Regions from separate parts of the Homo sapiens genome. Here regions 2, 3, 4, 5, 6 and 7 are each linked to region 1. Evidence: promoter capture Hi-C in 16 types of primary human blood cells and fetal thymus (Javierre and others, 2016). All regions are on one chromosome and are shown on one strand. The core of a region is centred on a gene start or on the middle of the fragment in contact, and the rest is flanking DNA. Distances in the headings are between cores, read along the strand shown.

Region 1 (2,590 bases), core at 28-2,527:
GGGGAGGGGGAAAAGGCAGGAGAGGACTGTGAACAATTAAGCAGGCGTGTGAAGGTTGCAACACCCTGCATTTCATCTTCCTTAAAGCTTTCGAGGCTTGGAAACCCACAGCCTCTATTTGATCTGGCAATTCACTTTGTGACGAAAAACAAACAGCACAGCAGGGCAGGGAGACAACAGTAAACCCTCCTGCGATCGCTGGAGAGACAATGGGAGGAGTGTCAGTCTCTCTCCCCTCGGGCGATGCTACCTATAAGCACGGGGACCTGGTAAGTTTCTTAAATTTCCAATGCCCCCAAATTCCAGTTCTACGACAATGTCGGAAACCGAGGTCCTTCTTTCCAAACTAAGACTTGAAGCAGTTTGGACGGGCTCATTGTCACAAGACTGACAAGTCACTGGGGTGTACACAGTTTTATTTTTATTTTTCTTGGTCAACAAGAGAAGCAGGGAAGACAAATAAGGCAGATCTAGGGGAAATGTTAGGCATTCCAAAGAGCAGAAAACACATTGGAAATGGTCTACAGTTTAAAAAAGACAAAAATAAAAGAGAGCTGGTCTACGTTCTGGGGGCAAAATGTGATTTTTTTAAAAAACTGTTAAGTACAAGCACCAAGAAACAAAACAAAAACAAAATCCGTTAAAAAAAAACAACAAAAAACAAACAAACAAAAAAAAAACACCTTGGCAGGCAGAGCAAGTTGGTCCCCATGACAAGCTCCAGCTGTGGCGTCTGGAGCGGGGACAGGCTCCGAACTCGTGCCAGGGGCTCGGCCGGGCTGTGCCGGGAGTTGGGGCTTCCCTGGGCGGACGCTGATCGCAGCCTGGAGGATCGATCGGCGGGGGCGCTGCGCCCGCTCCCCCGGTGACAGCGCGGGGCCCAGGCCCAGCGGACCGCAGAGAGCACCGGGTCTGAACCCCAAACAGCCGACCCGGCCCGCGCCCCGGCGCCCGCAGGGAACCGCGGCCGGCTGCGTTTACCTGTTGCCAGTACTCCTCCAGAGACGGCAGCGCCGAGAAGTAGCCGGTCTCGTGCACGATCTGGAGCTCCTGGAAGATGCTGCACATGGGGAGCACGTCCATGTCGGGCCGGGTTGGACGGAGCCCGCGGTCGCGAGGGCGGCGAGGCGCGCGGTGGGAGCCGGAGCCGAAAGTCTCCCCGGAGCGCAGGTGAAAGTTTCATGCAAACTCCAGGCTCGCAGAGACGCCCGGCCGGACCCTCCCGCAGCCCGCAGCGCGCGGAGCCCACACAATATTTGCAAACACCGGACTGACTGCAAACGTAACCCCTGCAAAACTTCCCTATTCAAAGCTCCGCTGCCAGCCTCCCCCTCCGCCCCCGCCTGGCTCCCCCCACTCCCCCTCCCCCCACGTGACTCGCCCCGCGCCCGCCCCGTGCGCGGCCCAATCCCGTGGCTCCCGGCCCGGGGGCTGCGCGCCGATGATGTCAGCTCCGGCCAATCGCAGGCGGCGACACACAGCGGCCCCGCCTGGCGTGACCGAGACTCTCCATCACGGCCCGCACCATTGGCTCAATTCGAACTCTGCTCGTTCTGATTGGAAAGTGGCCTCGCAGGCTATTTTTAGCAGGGTATATAAGGCGCGGGCGGCCGCGCGCCGGAGGAGTCCGCGCTGTGAGGTGCGCGGCCGAGCCCTGCACTGCGCCCGCGGCCGGAGCTAAGGGAGCCGGGGCTGGGAGAGCCGGGGCGGGCCGCGTCGCCTGTCCCCAGTCCCGGTCTCTCTTCCCCGCTGCCCGGTCCCGCCACCCCACGCCCGTCCCGGTCACCAAGCCGGGCCCTGTCGCCGCGCGAGCCCCGGTTCCGGCAGCTCACCCTGCGGGCGGCCGTCCGGTCCCGGGGCCGCCCGGTTCCCCCCCGTCCCCTTCTATGCCCGAGGCCGCCCCGTCCCCAACTGTCCCCTTCTACGCCGGGGGCTTCCCGGTCGCCAACTGTCCCCTTCTATGCCCGGGGCCGCCCCGTCCCCAACTGTCCTCTTCTGCGCCGCTCTGTTTCCCTACATCCCCCTAGTCATCCTCTGTTCTCTAACCTTGGGGTACCCCTCTCTGTCCTCCTCCACCTCCGGGTCCCTCTCTGTCCCCCTCCATCCCTGAGCCCGTCTCCGTCCCCCTCCAGTCCTAGGGTCCCCTCTGTCCTCCGGGCCACCAGAGTGGGGGAGGGGAGCACGCAGGCTCCCCTTGGAATTGGGAGAAACGTGTTTATCTTGTAGAGGGCGATCTTAGCCCTCACCAAGGTTAACAGCTAGGTTTTCCCATGAACGTGTAAACAATTTAGGTGCAAGCCGACATTTAGTGTGTGTGTTTTTTTCCATATAAATTATCTCCTAAAATATACCGTAATGTTCATTTTTAAGAAAAATGTCGAGACTCGAACCAGAGCATTTTAAAATCCAAAATGGAAAACTGAATTGTAACTGTATTATAGTTTTTGTTTCAAAATAGTTTAATGAACATTAAACATTTTGAAAGAATGGACTATGTAAAAAAAAATTAGAGGGTTTTGTATGTTAAGTTTTAGAGGGTCCGGCAGAAGCATGTGGCTGTAAGACTAGGTGGGGACCTTAGTGAGTCTGG
Region 2 (2,590 bases), core at 25-2,524, 370 kb before region 1:
TGGTGAAGGCTCAGCTATGTGGTCTGGGAAGAGGAGAGAGAAGGGCTGCGTCCTCCCAGGTTGACGCCTGTTGAGGACTGCGTTTCTTCTCTGGCTCAAATCTGGTGCACATCATTTTCTGAGGGCCCACACTGTGTGATTTACCCACATGGCCTAGGACCACTTTATGGAGATGGAGATGCGACAAGGGGCCCACACCAGTCACCTGCCAGCCTCCCTTTGTCTTGGTGGCACAGAAGCCGTCGGCTGGATGCACCCTGGAATGTCAGGAGGAGAGGAGGGAGGTGGGTGAATGCTATTTATTGCATGCTACCCTCGGACCAACGGCTGCAGCAGCCACTGTCCCCTGCCCCCCTCACTCTCCTGCTGTCTTTTACTGGGTTTGGTGATTACCAGAGGCCACCTCCTTGAAGGGTCAGCAACATGGCAGAGCCAACTGAGGTGGGTGTGGATGGATTTGGGCAGCTACACACCCACCGTGGGCTGCACCACTGCACCCTGGTCCGTCCAAGGACCACACACAACTCTGTCTGTGCTTGGACTTTTTGCTCATCAAGCACAGGCAGCCCTCAACCAAGGAGAGGCAGGCACAGGTGAGAAAAACCTCCCTGATCCTGGCCAGTCAGTGGGACTGTCCTGAAGCGCTTGCCCAAACCATCTGCTAGAGGGGCCCAGCTCATTAACCCTAACTGGCTTCCCTGCTGCCTGCCTCTCTGCTCCCTTTTCTCAGGTGGGGACAACCTGCCTCTCTGCTCCCTTTTCTCAGGTGGGGACAACCTGCCTCTCTGCTCCCTTTTCTCAGGTGGGGACAACCTGCCTCTCTGCTCCCTTTTCTCAGGTGGGGACAAGGACAGTGGGTTTTTCCCTGCACGGTCTCACTTTCCCACTCACAATTCACACACATGACTCCACACATTAGAGTCCCCAGCCCCGTGGGGCCCAGCTGGGGGAATTCTGCTGGTCCCACCCCTGGTGATTCCTGTCTGCCGAGGTGGTGTGGCTGCCGTGGGGGTGACCGCTGAGAGCCCCCCGTGAGAGCAGCTTCTGACAGGACAGAGTTCAGCCGCCCCACCCTTGAGATCTGATGCGTCTTCCATTCCTGGGCCCACTCTGCCACCCACATCCTGACCAGGGCCGCATGTCACGGACGTGGATGGCCGGCCTCTGCCCCCAGCCTGGGGTCCCCTAACGGGCAGTCTCTCCTCCGGAGCTCCCCATCAGCTGGGCTGTGGGGCCTCCGTCCGTCCTCGGCTTTTCCTGCCATCTCTCTGCTTCCTTTTCTCCATCTACAGGTGTCTGGCCTGCACCGTGGCCTGAAGCCCTCTAGCCTCTGGCTTCACCTCACCTTTACCCACAACGGGTACGTCCCAACCAATCTCCTGCAAGTCCGATTCCATCTCAGCGTCTGATTCCTGGAGGACCCCACAGACACTGTGTGTTTCCGAGCCTTCTTAACACCTCATTGAAAGATTTACAAATAAGGGTTGTAGGGCCAGTCACGGTGGCTCACGCCCATAATCCCAACACTTTGGGAGGCCGAGGCGGGAGCATCACTTGAGGCCAGGAGTCCAAGACCAACTTTGGAAGCATAGTGGGTCCCCCATCTCTACAAAAAATACCAAAATTAGCCAGGTGTGGTGGTGCATGCCTGTAGTCCCAGCTATGTGGGAGGCTGAGGTGAGAGGATTGCTTGAGCCCAGGGGTTGAAGGTTACCATGAGCTCTCATTGCGCCACTGCACTCCAGCCTGGGTGACAGAGTGAGACCCTGTCTCAAAAAGAAATAAACGAATAAATCAATAAGGTTTGTGCTCAGTGCACAGATCCACCAGACTTTAGTGTGCTGGACCTACTGAGGGTCTCGGGGTGGACCTGAAGGCATCAATCAGAAAGGCCCCCAGCTGCTCCATGCCAGGCCCATAAGGAAGAAACAGAGGCTGGGGCGGTCGCTCACGCCTGTAATCCCAGCACTTTGGCAGGCCGAGGTGGGTGGATCACCTGAGGTCATGAGTTCGAGACCAGCCTGACTAACATGGAGAAACCCCACCACTACTAAAAACACAAAATTAGCCGGGCATGAGGTGCATGCCTGTAATCCCAGCTACTTGGGAGGCTGAGGCAGGAGAATGGCTTGAACCTGGGAGGCAGAGGTTGAGGTGAGCCGATGTCACGCCATTGCACTCCAGCTAGGGCAACAAGAGCAAGACTCCGTCTCAAAACAACAGCAACGACAACAACAACAACGACAACAAAAAACAGAGGTCAGGATCTGTTCCGGGTAAGGCTCAGGAAGGAGAGACTGGCAGCGCATGGGTGAGAGCGTCTCCTCCAGTCGGGTGCCTGCAATGTGAGCACTCGTGAAACAGGGGCTCTGGGAGGAATGTGTGAGGGTGGGCACCGCGTCAGGGGCTTGGTGTCATGGGCTGAGGTGGGTTGGCCAAGACTCATGCGCTGAAATCCTAACTCTCATGCCCCAGGATGTGGCCGGACTTGGAGACAGGGTCACTACAAAAGCAACTGAGTTGAAATGAAGCCGTTGGAGTGGCCCTAATTTGATCTGACTGGCATCCTATGAGAAGAGGAGGTTAAGGC
Region 3 (2,590 bases), core at 47-2,546, 370 kb after region 1:
CTTTTAAAGTCCTTATGTAGGTCACAGCATACTTTGATGTGGGAGGGACTGAAATGAAATAGTACAGATAAACCTTACGTGAGTTCACCCTTGGCAGGAACAGGATCATGTTCTAAAGATGAGAAGCCACGCTATTACCAGCAGGTTGGAAGATGAATAAAGGCACCGTCGAGGCCTCTGATGGACTAAACCTGCATGTTCAGCACCCAAATACAAAGTAAGGAAAAGGAAGCATATTCCACTAAGTTCTTGCATGTTTCACTTTATTTTATTTTACATACAATGCTCCTACAAAACATCAGTGTAATTTATTTTTGTGTTAATTTAATAACATTTTTAAACCTAATATTTTAATTACAAAAGACATAGATGTAGAAACACTGATAAACATAATAATAATTTTAAAAATCCATTTGCCATCTTTCCATCCAAAAACATTTACCTTGACTACTTATTAGTACATCTCCCCAGATAACTTTCTATATATTATGCGCACGCATAAAATGGAAGCAAATCCTTGAATAACAGCTTTTATATTGTGTACCTTAAATATATGTATATTGCACTGTGTGATTCTATGTTTGGGCTCTCTGTTCTGTTCCATTGATCTGTTCATCTATTATTTTGCCAGTACCACAGTCTTCATTACTGTAGCTTTATAATAAGTCTTGAAGTCAAACAGAGCAAGTCTTCTGACTTTGTTCTTCTTCAACACTCTTTTGGCAAGCTGGGTGTTTTGTCTCTCCATATAATAGAATCCATTTGTTGATGTCTAAAAATTAACTTGCTGGCATTTTGACTGGGAACATATTGAATCTATAGATCAAGTTGAGAACAGCTGACATCTTAACAACACTGAGTCTTCTTACCCACACATGTGGAATATTTCTCCACTTATTTACATCTTCTTTGATGTGTTTTATCTGAGTTTCCTACTTTTAGCTCTTGTACATATTTTCATCAGATTTACACTTAAGTATCATTTTTGGGTGCTAATATAAGTGATGTGTTTCTAATTTTAAATTTTAATTGTTCATTACTGGTATATGGCAAGCAATTGACTTTTGTATACTTCCTTTGTACCTTACAACCTCGGTACAATCACTTATTCATTCCAGCTTTCTGTCATTGAGTTTTTTTTTAACAGAGATAATCATGTCATCTATGAACAAAGAGAGTCTTATTTGTTCCTTTCCAATCTGTATAATTTTTATTTTTTGCTAATTTTATTAGCTAGAACTTTCATTTTGATGTTAAATAGAAATTTCGAGAGTAGATATCCTTGCCTTATTTCTGATCTTAGCACGAAAGCATTCAATTTTTCATTATTTATTAAGAGGAGAGCTGTAGGTTTTAATAGATGTTCTATGTCAGGTTGAGAAAGTTCTTCTTTATAGCTAGTTTGCTGAGGTGTTTTATCATGAATGGGTATTGGATTTTATCAAATTCTTTCACATATGATTGTATGATTTTTCTTCTTTAGACTGTGGAAGTGGTAGATTATGTTAATTGCTTTTTGAATGTTGAGCCAACCTTTCATACCTGAGACAAATCTTATTTGTTTATTTGAAATGATAATGACTGAGAATTTTTCAAAATTAATGACTGACACTGGCAGGGCACAGTGGTTCATGCCTGTAGTCCCAGCGCTTTGGGAGGTCGAGGTGGGATGTTTCAGGCCAAGAGTTCAAGACCAGCCTGGGCAACATAGCAAGACCTCATCTCAATAAGAAATAAAACAAAAAGGCCAGGCGCGATGGCTCACGCCTGTAATCCCAGCACTTTGGGAGGCCGAGGTGGGTGGATCATGAGGTCATGAGATCGAGACCATCCTGGCCAACATGGTGAAACCCCGTCTCTACTAAAAATACAAAAATTAGCTGGGCATGATGGTGCGTGCCTGTAGTCCCAGCTACTTGGGAGGCTGAGGCAGGAGAATCACTTGAACCCGGGAGGCAGAGGTAACAGTGAGCTGACATCGTGCCACTGCACTCCAGCCTGGGTGACAGAGTGAGACTCCATCTCAAAATAAATAAATAAATAAATAAAATAAAAGAAATAAAACAAAAAATTAGACAGGTGCCAGAGTGCACTCCTGGCCTTTAATTTTAATTACTATGGAAGCTGAGGTCGGGGAACATCCCTTAAGATTGAGGTTAGGGTGAACTGTGTTGGCACGACTGTGCTCCAGCCTGCACAACAGAGCGAAACCCTGTCTTTAAAAACAAACAAGCAAACAAAAAATGATTGACTCTAAACCACAAACCCAGACAGTCCTGCCTCCAATGTGTCAGCTTCTGCTCCTGGGTTTCTGTCACAAGTAAACTGTTATTCTCTCTGAGTATCTACCCCTCTTTCCCGTTTTGGGGGCAGCAGTCTGCCCTGTGACTGCGAGTCTCTGATGGATATAAGAAGAGTTGTTGATTTTCAGTTTGATCAGTTTTTTCTTGGTCTGAAGATGGAAGTGAGATCTTTCAAAGTCTTTACATGTCAGACCATGTTGTTATTTTTCAAAAAATAAATCCAAAGTTAGGAATTTTTTTTGAGACAGGGTCTGCTCTGTTGCCCAGACTGGAGTGCAGTGGCACGA
Region 4 (2,590 bases), core at 60-2,559, 350 kb before region 1:
GTGACTGTGGATATCTCACTGTGGCATTCCCAGGGCCTACCCTAACCCCACCCATTTGGCCCCCACCAAGGGGATGTATTCCCTGGAAACGTCCACGTGTGGATTGCGCTGCCCACCTCCATTCCCTGTGCTCCTGGGAATGGCACTGACATTTGACCTGCAGGGAGCAGAGACATCCCATGTTTTGCCTGTGGAATTTGGGGGCCCTGACCCAGTCCAGCTCCAGGGCTGAACTGGAGTCACCAGTCAGTCAGTTAACAAAGCCACACGGCGGCCACAGGGATTGATCTGCAGATAAGAACGTGTCCTACTTAGTGCCCAGAGAGTCATGAAGGCAGTTTTGGATTCTCTGGAGAGAGAGACCTCCCTCTCATCTGTGGAGATGGGCAGTGGGGAGAGCACAGGAGATCCTACAGAATGGGGCACCTGGACAGGCCAGAAGGACGCTGGAGGGCAGCTGCCACCACAGATGCTGATACACTTGCCCTTGGATGGCTCTTCTGAACCTAGGCCTAGCTCTGGAGTGGTTTATGAAAGCCCCTAAGTCCCTCTTTTTAATTTTAGCTTGCATTGGGTGGTCTGTCACTTGCAGCAGAAAATCCCCGGCTCACAGCTCCCGTGTGAGTAAAGGCACTTGAATGCTGTTTCCTTGGAGGTTGGCCCTGAGATGGTTTCATGCCACTGCCACTAGGGACACTGGGACCATAGCTCGCAGAATCACTGAGAGAAGCAGACACATACCAGTTAGCATGGCAGTGGGTTTGGGAAAACAGATTGAATTTTTATTCACTGTGGCCCGTCCCAGCCTTGCCTTCTCCTTGTCATAATTTTGTCCATTATTTTTAGTATTTTAACATCAAATGCCCAAGTTAGTGAAGATGTTTTACTTCAAAATGTAGACCCCAGAGAACAAAATGAGATACAAAACCTTTTTGGAACATGTGTTTAATGACATACTTTAATGGAACTTTTAGCTGCTGTGGAGAGGTTTTTGGCATGAGTTGTATAGCTTCTTTTAGCAAATTTCCTAAAAATCAGATGCATTTTACACTTGGCTGCATAGTAAACCCTAAAAGGGTTCCTGGAATGGATTGAAGTCTAAGAAGCCCAAAACAAATAAGACATTCATCTGCATGTTCTCAGAGCAACATCCCCAGCTGAACTGGGCTCTGTGGGGACTCAGCATGGCATCTCCCTACAGGCATTTTCCCCTTTAATTTGTCAGGGTTCCCCTAGGGTTAGCTTGCATCATATTCTACCTTGAAGTCCAAAATCAATTTCTATAAGCAGTACCCAGATGGGGAAACTGAGATCAGGTCTCTGTTACCAGATGGATGTCATATTCTCTCTCTCTCTCTCTCTCTCTCTCTCTCACACACACACACACACACACACTTTTAATGAATGAGAAAATGCATTCACATCACATTTTAATAGGATTGTTCTCAGGAATGATGGAGGCCATATTTATGAAAGGATTCCAGCATGGTTCTTGGCACATAGTAAACCCTCAGATATACCTGTATATGTGCGTGCGTGTGTGTGTGTGTGTGTGTGTGTATTTTAAATGCTCATCTTATACCAAGAACAAGTGACAATAAACATTTCAAGACAAGCGGCTGTATTTCAAATACTGACAGACCAGGGAGAATTTTATGTTAGTCACTCAGACCTAGCAGCTAGTAGGAGATTGTGTTCCGGAAGAGCGGTCACGGCTAGAATGGAGTATGTAGGACAGCAATGCCAAGGTACTGTGTTCAGCGAGTGGCAGAAGCAGGGAGGAAACGGGGCTTGTTAGAGTGGATAAGGTCATGGAACTGCTGGGAAAGGGAGCAGGAAGGGTTGCCAGTGAGATTTCAAACACTATCTTCAATCCCTCAAGAATGAGACAGGGGAAGGAATAGAGGAAACATCCCAATTTATGAAAACTTTTTGTTTTTTTTATTGTGACAGAGTCTTGCTGTATCCCCCAGGCTGGTGTGCAGTGGCATGATCTTGGCTCACTGCAACCTCTGCCTCCTGGGTTCAAGCGATTCCCATGCCTCAGCGTCCCGACTAGCTGTAGGCGCCTACCACCAAGCCCGGCTGATTTTTGTATTTTCAGTAGAGACAGGTTTTTACCATGTTGGCCAGACTCGTCTTGAACTCCTGACCTCAGGTGATCCGCCCGCCTCGGCCTCCCAAAGTGCTGGGAATACAGGCATAAGCCACCCCGCCCGGCCTTATTATGAAAACTTTATGAGAATTGAGGATCCCAGCAGAAAGTATTGAGTGTGTCTGGCATAAGTGGGGTTTTGGATTTTGGGTAAAGAGAGGCCTAGTTCCTGCTCTACACTCCATGCTTCTCTCCTAATCTCACAGCCTCAAAACTTCCTCTCCACAATGTCTCCGCCCTGATGGCCTGACGGAACATCAGGCCCTGGTTTCCTGCTACTCAATATTGACTTGGTGGTATCCACTAGCACCTGAAGTGTAAGAACTCCCCACTAAACTCATCCTCTCCTCTTGCTTTTTCAAATCCCTACTAATGGCAGCTTCCTGTATAAACACAATGGCACTTTCAGTTTCTCGTCAACAGCTCAACACCCGT
Region 5 (2,590 bases), core at 53-2,552, 350 kb after region 1:
GCAATGACAGGGGCCGCCTGAATGCTCAACCCTTGTTGGTGGAAACCTTGGCATGTGTAGCCCATGTGTGGTGGTTTCTCCTAAAATGGGACATACACATTCGGTATCACCCACATTTCCACTCCTAGGAATCTATCCAACCAAAATGAGGACAAGTGTTCATAAAAAGATGTGTACAAGAATGTTTATGGTGACACTCTTCATAACAACTCCGAAGGCAAAACAACCAATGCATATGAAGAGCAGAACGAGGACACTGTGGTGCATTCAAAAAACAAGATTGTTTCATTGCGATTTTCAAATGCAAAACTCATCTCAAGTGTGAAAGACGGAATAGTGGATGCTTTTGGTGAGGGTAGTGACTTCTAGGGCATGGGAGTATCTGAGCTGCTAGCAATGTTTTATTTCCTGGTCATGGCAGTGGTGACACAGAGGTGATTGCTTTGTGAAAATTATCATTTTTTGCACTTCAATTGTGCATATTCTTATGATGTGTGCACTTTTCAGTGTGTAAGCTACACCAATAAAATTCCCTCAAATTATGTGTTCAGTGGTAATTAAAATTCTGCAATTATTTTTTAAATAAAGAAATGACAATACTGTGAGCAATCAGTTGAGTTGGATGTTATCATGAACAAGAAAGAGGAGAAGCTTCACCCTTGATCAAGAGTTTCCAACATTCTCTATGCCTCTGGAGCCATAGAGTGGGAATTTCAGTGCTGATTAAATTCCAGTCTGATTTTTTTTTGCATTGTCATAGCTTTGTTACTTAATGAGGTATTGTAAGAATTCCTGCTATTCCTTCCATGGTTGTTATAAATGTTGACATTAAAAGACCTTATTGCAATAGTAAAATGAGCTCTACAACCAATGGTTGCCTGTGAGTGATAATGGGGCCATGACCTTATAGGATTTACCAGTCACTGCACACCTAAGTCATTAATTTGCTAAACACTTTGTGCAATCCCAACTATGAAAAGTACTATACGAGCCAAAATTCTATTCTCTCCTATACGATGATTAATCATGTTTGATTAATACGATGTAAAATATCATTAAATAATTTAAATGCAGGTGCATGGATTAAAGTTACTCTAGAGCTTTCATGACATCAACAGTGACAAATTATGTGCAAGTTTAAGTTTGCACAAGTGATTAATCTGCTATTCTGCAGTTAAAATTAATTATTATTAATTATTATGCTCATATTTACATGACTGGTTCAAAATATGGCCATTAATGCACTGCATTTTCACAAAGTTATTTTTAAATGTAATCTTACATACTTAATGTACGGCAAGTACAAAGAGCAAGAGAGAATTGGCTCAAAATTGTAATTTTAGCTGTTTTAGCTTCAGGTTTAGCTGACTAATTTTTATTAAACAGCCGAGGTTATTAAAATATTTTATTTGTTCTGTCTGTACAGAGGCTAAATAGGATTGTATTATTCTTATAGTTAAGTGGACTGGTATATATGTTTCCAAATTTTATCTGTAACTATTGGCATGATTTTCTTTTGAACAATATATTCGGATGTTCTCAACCTGTCTCATGAGTACACTTACCCAAGAAGTGAATGAAGAGGAGGCTTTTAGATGCCACAGAAGCAGAGTAGGAAGATTCTAGAATGAGAGAGCTGAGACCCACATTAGACATGAGGTGTTGCCTCTGTTGCCCTGCTGGGAGGGTTTACTTGAACCACTTCAGACAGATATTTATCTTACTCTCCAGAGATAGAGATTTTATAGCTTGTGTACAATATGCGATGGTTAGCCACTCTTTGTTGTTTGAGAGTATGAGTGTATAATAAAAATAACCTTTAAATAGTAGCCACAGTACCAAGAACTTCCATTTATTCGGTACCTATTTGGTTCTAGACCTTGTTTTGGCTCTTCACATTTATTGTCTTGTTGAGATTTTAGAAAACATTTTCTTTATTACAGTTGACAATACAGAAGCTTGTTTGTCTAAGGCCGTTAATGACACAGGTCTGACTCCTGGTGAAGGACTTTTGGAAAATCAAATCTACACAGGGAAGAGCTAAGTGATGTGTATAAGACACAATCTATTCATGTAAATGTCCCCTCACTTTTCTTTCTGGAGGTCAAACTATCATATGTTTGTTGCTTACCTTGAGAGGCCTATTGACCAGGATATACAGTAAATGTCTTTTAGCTATTTTTGTTAAAAGTAATGCTTCAACTGGTTCCCATTCATACTTGCTAGTATTTATCCCTGCAGTGATACTCAGATATACATGGAAGGTGAAGGGGAATGAAATTGAATATATAGTGTGATGGTTAATAGTGAGTGTCAACTTGATTGGATTGAAGGATGCAAAGTATTAATCCTGGGTGTGTCTGTGAGGGTGTTACCAAAGATTAACATTTGAGTCAGTGGGCTGGGGAAGGCAGGCCCACCCTTAATATGGTGGGCACCATCTAATCAGCTTCCAGTGAATATAAAGCAGGCAGAAAAACATGAAAAGGTGAGACTGGCCTAGCCTCCCAGCCTACATATTTCTCCCATGCTGGATGCTTCTTGCCCTCTAACATTGGATTCCAAGTTCTTCAGTTTTGGAACTCAGACT
Region 6 (2,590 bases), core at 36-2,535, 340 kb before region 1:
TACAAATTATTGTGTACCAATCAGCAGGGCTAAGAATTGTGTATTATCCCATGAAAGCTTTCAAACAATATTGAAATAAAGATATGTCTATAATCTTCATTTTACTGGTGAAGAAACTGAAACTTAGAGAAAGGCTCTATAAGTTGGTTTCCTAGGAAGTGGTAGAGCCAACCCACTGGGCTTTTGTAATTTTTAATTTTTATTTTTTTTACTTTCCTAATTTATTTCTTTTTAAAAATGGCTTGATTGGGGTACGATTGGCATGCAATCATAAAATTAAACCTGTCCAAGTTTAGTGTCTGCACTCGATGAGTTTGAGGATAAGTATCCACCAGTGAAACCAGCACCATCATCAGGGTGGTAAACACATCCCTCACCTCCAAGGGTTTTCTTCCACCCCGTTATTATTATTGTTAAGTTGTTGTTGTTTGTTGTTTTATGAAGCGTTCACATAAGATCCACTGTCTTAGCAATTTTAAGTACACAATACAGTCTTGTTAGCTATGGGTGCTATGCTGTAGAGTAGAGCTCATACCGCATCCACCTGGCATAACTGAAACTTTGTTCCCTTTGACCATCAATGCCCTGTTCCTCCCTTCTCCCAGCCCCTGGTAATCACCACTCTCCTTTCTGCTTCTATGAATTTAACTATTTTAGGTTCCATATATAAATGAAGTCATGTGGTATTTTTCTGTGCTTGGATTATTTCACTTAGCATAATGTCCTCCAGGTTCATCCATGTTGTTGCAAATGACAACATTTCCTTCTTTTTAAAGGCTGAATAATATTCCCTTGTACAAATATGCCCCATTTTCTTTATCCATTCATCCACCAATGAGCATTGAGGCTGTTTCCACGTCGTGGCTGTAGTGAATAACTTTGCAACAAACACAGGGTTCAGAGATCTCTTAGAGATACTAATTTTATTTCCTTTGGATATATACCCCAAAGTGCAATTGCTGGACAATTTGATGTTTCTATGCTTACTTTTTTTTGAGAAACCTCCGACTGTTTTCTACAATGGCTGTACCAGTATTTCCACTAGCAATGTACACAGGTTTCTTTTTCTCTACATCTTCAGTAACTAACACTTCTTATCTTTTTTTTTTTCTGAATAATAGCCATTCTCACAGGTGTGAGGTGATATCTCGTTGTGCTTTTGATTTACTGATAATTAGTGATGTTGAGCACTTTTTCATGAACCTGTTTATCTTTTGTGTGTCTTCCTTGGAGAAATGCCTATTCAGGTCTTTTATCCCTTTTATAATCAGGTTATTTGATTTTTTTTTTTTGCTATTTGTATAAATTATTTGTATATTTTGGATGCTAATCCCTTATCAGATATATGACTTGCACACTTTTTTTTCATTCTCTAGGTTGCCTTTCTATTTTGTAGATTGTTTCTTCTACTGTGCAGAGCTTTATAGTTAGGTATATTTTGCTTGTTTATTTTGACATTTGTTGTCTGTGCTTTTGGTGTCATATCCAGAAAAACACTGCCAAGACCAATCAATGACAACAAACTTTTCCCCGATGTTTTCTTCTGGGAGTCTTACACTTTCAGGTCTTATGATTAAATCTTAAGTCCATTTAGAGTTGATTTTTCTATATGGTACAAGGATCCAATTTCACTCTTCCATATGTGGATATTCAGTTCTCCCTGCACCATTTATTGAAGAGTCTATCATTTCCTCATTGTGTATTCTTGGCACCCTATCAAAAATTAATTGACTGTATATATGTATACATTTATTTCTGGGCTCTCTATTCTATTTCATTGGTTTGTGGGTCTGTTTTTTTTATGCCAGTACCATCCTGTCTTCATTATCATAGCACGTAATGAAATTTGAAATCAAGAGGTAGAGTGCCTCTATCTTTGTTCTTTTTGCTCAACATTGCTTTGGCTATTAGAATTCTTTGTGATTGCTTATGAATTTTAGGATTCCTTTTTCTATTTCTTTGAAAAAAAAGCCTCTGAAATTTTGATAGGAATTGTGTTGAATCTGTAGATCCTTTTGAGTGGTGTGGACATTAAACAATATTAATTTTTCTAATCCATGAACATGAAATACTTTTCCATTTATTTTTATCTAATTTTTCTCATCATAGTTGTTTAGCTTTCAGTATATAGAGCTTTTACCACCTCAGTTAAGTTTATACCTAAGTATTTTATTCTTTATGATGCTATTACAACAGGATTGTTTTCTTAATTTCTATTTTGGGTGGTTCATTTTTAATGTAGAGAATGCTACTGGTTTTTGTATGTTGATTTTCTATCTTGCAACTTTGCTAACTTCATTCAACAGTTCTAACAGATTTTTGGTGGAGTCTTCTGGGTTTTCTGTATATAAGATCATGCTATCTGCACACAAAGACAATTTTACTTCTTCCTCTCTAATGTGAATGCCTTTTACTTTTTTTTCTCACCTAATTGCTCTGTCTAGGACTCCAGCACTATGTTGAATAGAAGTGGAGAACGTGGGAATCCCTGTCTTGCTCCTGATCTTAGAGAAAAAGCTTTCAGCTTTTTACCTTCGAGTATGATGCTATCTGTGGGCTTGCCATGTATGGCTTGTTTGATGTTGAGGTA
Region 7 (2,590 bases), core at 26-2,525, 320 kb after region 1:
CTAGATCCCTTGCAAGTGCAATTTACAGTAGGGTTTGTGCTCCTATGAGAATCTAATGCTGTTGCTGATTTGACAGGAGGCAGAGTTCAGGTGGTAATGCTCTCTTCTCCCTGCTGTGCCACCCAGTTTCTAACAGGCCACAGACTAGTACTGGTCCACGGGCCAGGGGCTGGGGACCTCTGACTTAAAGTAAAAATATGTGAAAATTGTTTCTTAAGAGAAAAATAATTTCTTCTAAGAAAGGATAATTTCTGCATCATATGAAGAAAGACCTGTTTTTATTAACGTGTTAATTACATTATTGTTACTAAAAGACCATATGTACAATATTTAACTTGATTTTTTCACGATGGTTGTGAAATATATTATCATGCTGAACTTGGACATCTCTATGTAGTAAGAAGGGCCTACATAGAACATAGAGGCTCTTCTTTGGGTTTTGTTTGTGACATGTCTGAGCTCTTCCATGGCTGACCCACTATTAAACAGAATACTGGGACGTGCTTTTGTCTAATTGTAAGGGTGTATAAATGCAGTCATCTTAAAAGCATTCTACACACCCTTGCTAAAAGAGGCCTGCATTAGTACACAGGAAATGTTCATTTTATTTATTCAACCTTCGAGTTCCTTATTAGCAGTTGTAGAAAAGTAAAGATTTATTCGTTAGTAAAATCCAAAGACTCCATTTACCAAATTTTTATTCTTTACTTTAATGAAATTTGTCTGTAGGGCTTTTAAAATTCATTTATAAAGTTGGAACTATATTCAGCTCTGCTGTCTTAGAGATAGATGGCCACATTATTACTTGTCTGTCAAATATAAGTAGGGCTGTTAATAACTGAGAGACAACTAAGAAAACTACCAAACATGGGTGTTTCCTTTGCAGGAAATTGCAATTCTAACCCCTGCATTCCTCTTGGAATCAATTACCTGACTGCAAGTATTACGAAGTCGCTTACTTTTATAGTTAGGGGCACAAGACCTAAGTTAGTGTTCTTCAAAACATCGCCTCTAAGAAGGCAAGTGAAGCTGAAGACTATAAACATGAAGAGGATGTGAACACGACACCTGAAGCAGGGTGACGCCAGCCCATTCTGTCCACTCCATAAGGATAGCCCTTGTTCCATTCGGTCCAGTATACATATTTCCACATGATGCTGAGATTGGGGCAGCAGTCAAAGAAGTGAAGAACTGCAGGGTGTTGTAAAAAGATCAGACTTATGGCCAGGCGCAGTGGCTGATGCCTGTAATCACAGCACTTTTGGAGGCAAGGCGGACAGATCACGAAGTCAGGAGTTCGAGACCAGCCTGACCAACATGGTGAAACCCCGTCTCTACCAAAAATACAAAAATTAGCTGGGCGTGGTGGCAGGCACCTGTAATCCCAGGTACTCAGGAGGCTGAGGGAGGAGAATCACATGAACCTGGGAGGTGGAGGTTGCAGTGAACCGAGATCGCACCACTGCACTCCAGCATGGGTGACAGAGCGAGACTCCATCTCAATAAAATAAAATAAAATAAAAAAGTAAAATAAATCAGACTCATTCTCAACCTGTAAAGTATTGGTACATTTTTGGAGATACCTTCTTTTTTCTTAGACTCAGCAATAGAGTCTAGAAAGAGAATGTAATAAAAGAAACAGTGTTAGACTACATTAAAAAAGGATTTTCCAGACTAGACAGTCCAATTTTTAAAATATGTATATATAGGTGCAACTAAATCCCTATTTTAGCTATCTTCACCCTTCTATCTTAGGGTAAACCAATGAGTCAATACAACCCTACAATTTCCCAAATGTGAATTGGAGACACACTATCCAAGAATAAGCAACATCTATGAAAACTGCTGAGACATGTTATCAGTTAATATGCATGTGGTAGGCACCCTTCCTGCTGCAGTAGATACAACAGTAATGTGTAGAAAGGACATCTGAAACATTACTTAGTGTTATGAAGATCATTTGGATCTCCAAGAAAAGGGAAGTCATTATGGATTGGTTGCCACAGCAAAGAGTTCGTGCAAAAGTGAAACCGGAGTTAGCCCCTGAAGATGAGTGTTGAATGCAGACAGATTGACAAGGATGCTGAAGAATTTAGTAACACTTGAATTGTGTATTCGATCCAAAAAAAGATGACTCATCACGAAAAAAATTAACATTTTTTTTCATTTCATTTTAAAGAACGATACTCGGCTTGTTTTAAAATCTTCCTTTTAAGTCTTTTTCTTCTGGTTCATTTTCAGATATTGGGTATTTCAAGACTTTACTTGTGAGAAAATCAGCAATAATATGTTCATTTATTTTCATAAACTAAAGAAGATAGCACTGATACCTGGAAACGTTATTTTTTTTTCACTTGGGAGGAAAACATTGTTAGTCTTTGGCAATATGTGATTATGGATGTGATTTGGTAGAGTGGCTGACATGTCATCCACATTGATTCTTTTGTGAACATGTTTCAGTTTGTAGCTTCTATGTGATGACAATTTCACTTACCTACATCACAGGCCAGGGGAGGGTAATGTACAACTATGTCCTCACTGCTTAGTGTGCCCTCAGAATTGAGAAGCTGCTTGGCTAAGAAAAGCTGAG

What was found. Contacts are between HindIII fragments. The CHiCAGO score rates a contact against its expected background, and 5 or more counts as called.
Region 2: a contact is called between a fragment that was not itself captured here and the fragment with the promoter of KLF6 in region 1, in 1 of 17 cell types (neutrophils). The highest score is 7.6, in neutrophils.
Region 3: a fragment that was not itself captured here is called in contact with the fragment with the promoter of KLF6 in region 1 in 2 of 17 cell types (neutrophils and total CD8 T cells); the score reaches 10.5 in neutrophils.
Region 4: a contact is called between a fragment that was not itself captured here and the fragment with the promoter of KLF6 in region 1, in 1 of 17 cell types (neutrophils). The highest score is 11.0, in neutrophils.
Region 5: a fragment that was not itself captured here is called in contact with the fragment with the promoter of KLF6 in region 1 in 4 of 17 cell types (neutrophils, total CD8 T cells, total B cells and 1 more); the score reaches 9.1 in neutrophils.
Region 6: a fragment that was not itself captured here is called in contact with the fragment with the promoter of KLF6 in region 1 in 1 of 17 cell types (neutrophils); the score reaches 5.6 in neutrophils.
Region 7: a fragment that was not itself captured here is called in contact with the fragment with the promoter of KLF6 in region 1 in 1 of 17 cell types (neutrophils); the score reaches 6.0 in neutrophils.

What each region holds. Positions count from the first base shown.
Region 1 is chr10:3,783,932-3,786,521 of GRCh38, forward strand. It overlaps KLF6 (KLF transcription factor 6), which reads right to left and starts at 1,278. Exons shown (of 4, transcript NM_001300.6): 1 at 982-1,278. The coding sequence starts at 1,083. RefSeq lists enhancers at 1-99, 100-656, 657-1,212, silencers at 818-1,417, 1,668-1,947, 2,128-2,187 and a promoter at 1,079-2,016. The HindIII fragment of the contact is 8,520 bases long and covers 86-2,590 here.
Region 2 is chr10:3,411,773-3,414,362 of GRCh38, forward strand. The region is part of intron 1 of LOC105376360 (a long non-coding RNA gene); the gene reads left to right. Among named protein-coding and RNA genes, the nearest start is that of LINC02669, 90 kb to the right of the region's middle. The HindIII fragment of the contact is 6,581 bases long and covers 1-2,590 here.
Region 3 is chr10:4,154,427-4,157,016 of GRCh38, forward strand. LOC105376368 (a long non-coding RNA gene) reads left to right here. Exons shown (of 4, transcript XR_930587.4): 3 at 98-217. Among named protein-coding and RNA genes, the nearest start is that of LINC00702, 88 kb to the right of the region's middle. The HindIII fragment of the contact is 3,461 bases long and covers 1-2,590 here.
Region 4 is chr10:3,431,590-3,434,179 of GRCh38, forward strand. It overlaps LINC02669 (long intergenic non-protein coding RNA 2669), which reads right to left. Exons shown (of 5, transcript NR_155743.1): 5 at 1,923-2,590. All of the region lies in intron 1 of LOC105376360 (a long non-coding RNA gene), which reads left to right. Among named protein-coding and RNA genes, the nearest start is that of LINC02669, 70 kb to the right of the region's middle. The HindIII fragment of the contact is 5,189 bases long and covers 1-2,590 here.
Region 5 is chr10:4,137,556-4,140,145 of GRCh38, forward strand. No RefSeq gene overlaps it. Among named protein-coding and RNA genes, the nearest start is that of LINC00702, 110 kb to the right of the region's middle. The HindIII fragment of the contact is 1,307 bases long and covers 650-1,956 here.
Region 6 is chr10:3,447,698-3,450,287 of GRCh38, forward strand. The region is part of intron 3 of LINC02669 (long intergenic non-protein coding RNA 2669); the gene reads right to left. The region is part of intron 1 of LOC105376360 (a long non-coding RNA gene); the gene reads left to right. LOC124902538 (a long non-coding RNA gene) reads left to right here and starts at 1,937. Exons shown (of 2, transcript XR_007062362.1): 1 at 1,937-2,590. The HindIII fragment of the contact is 2,460 bases long and covers 56-2,515 here.
Region 7 is chr10:4,105,525-4,108,114 of GRCh38, forward strand. No RefSeq gene overlaps it. Among named protein-coding and RNA genes, the nearest start is that of MIR6078, 120 kb to the left of the region's middle. The HindIII fragment of the contact is 3,080 bases long and covers 1-2,590 here.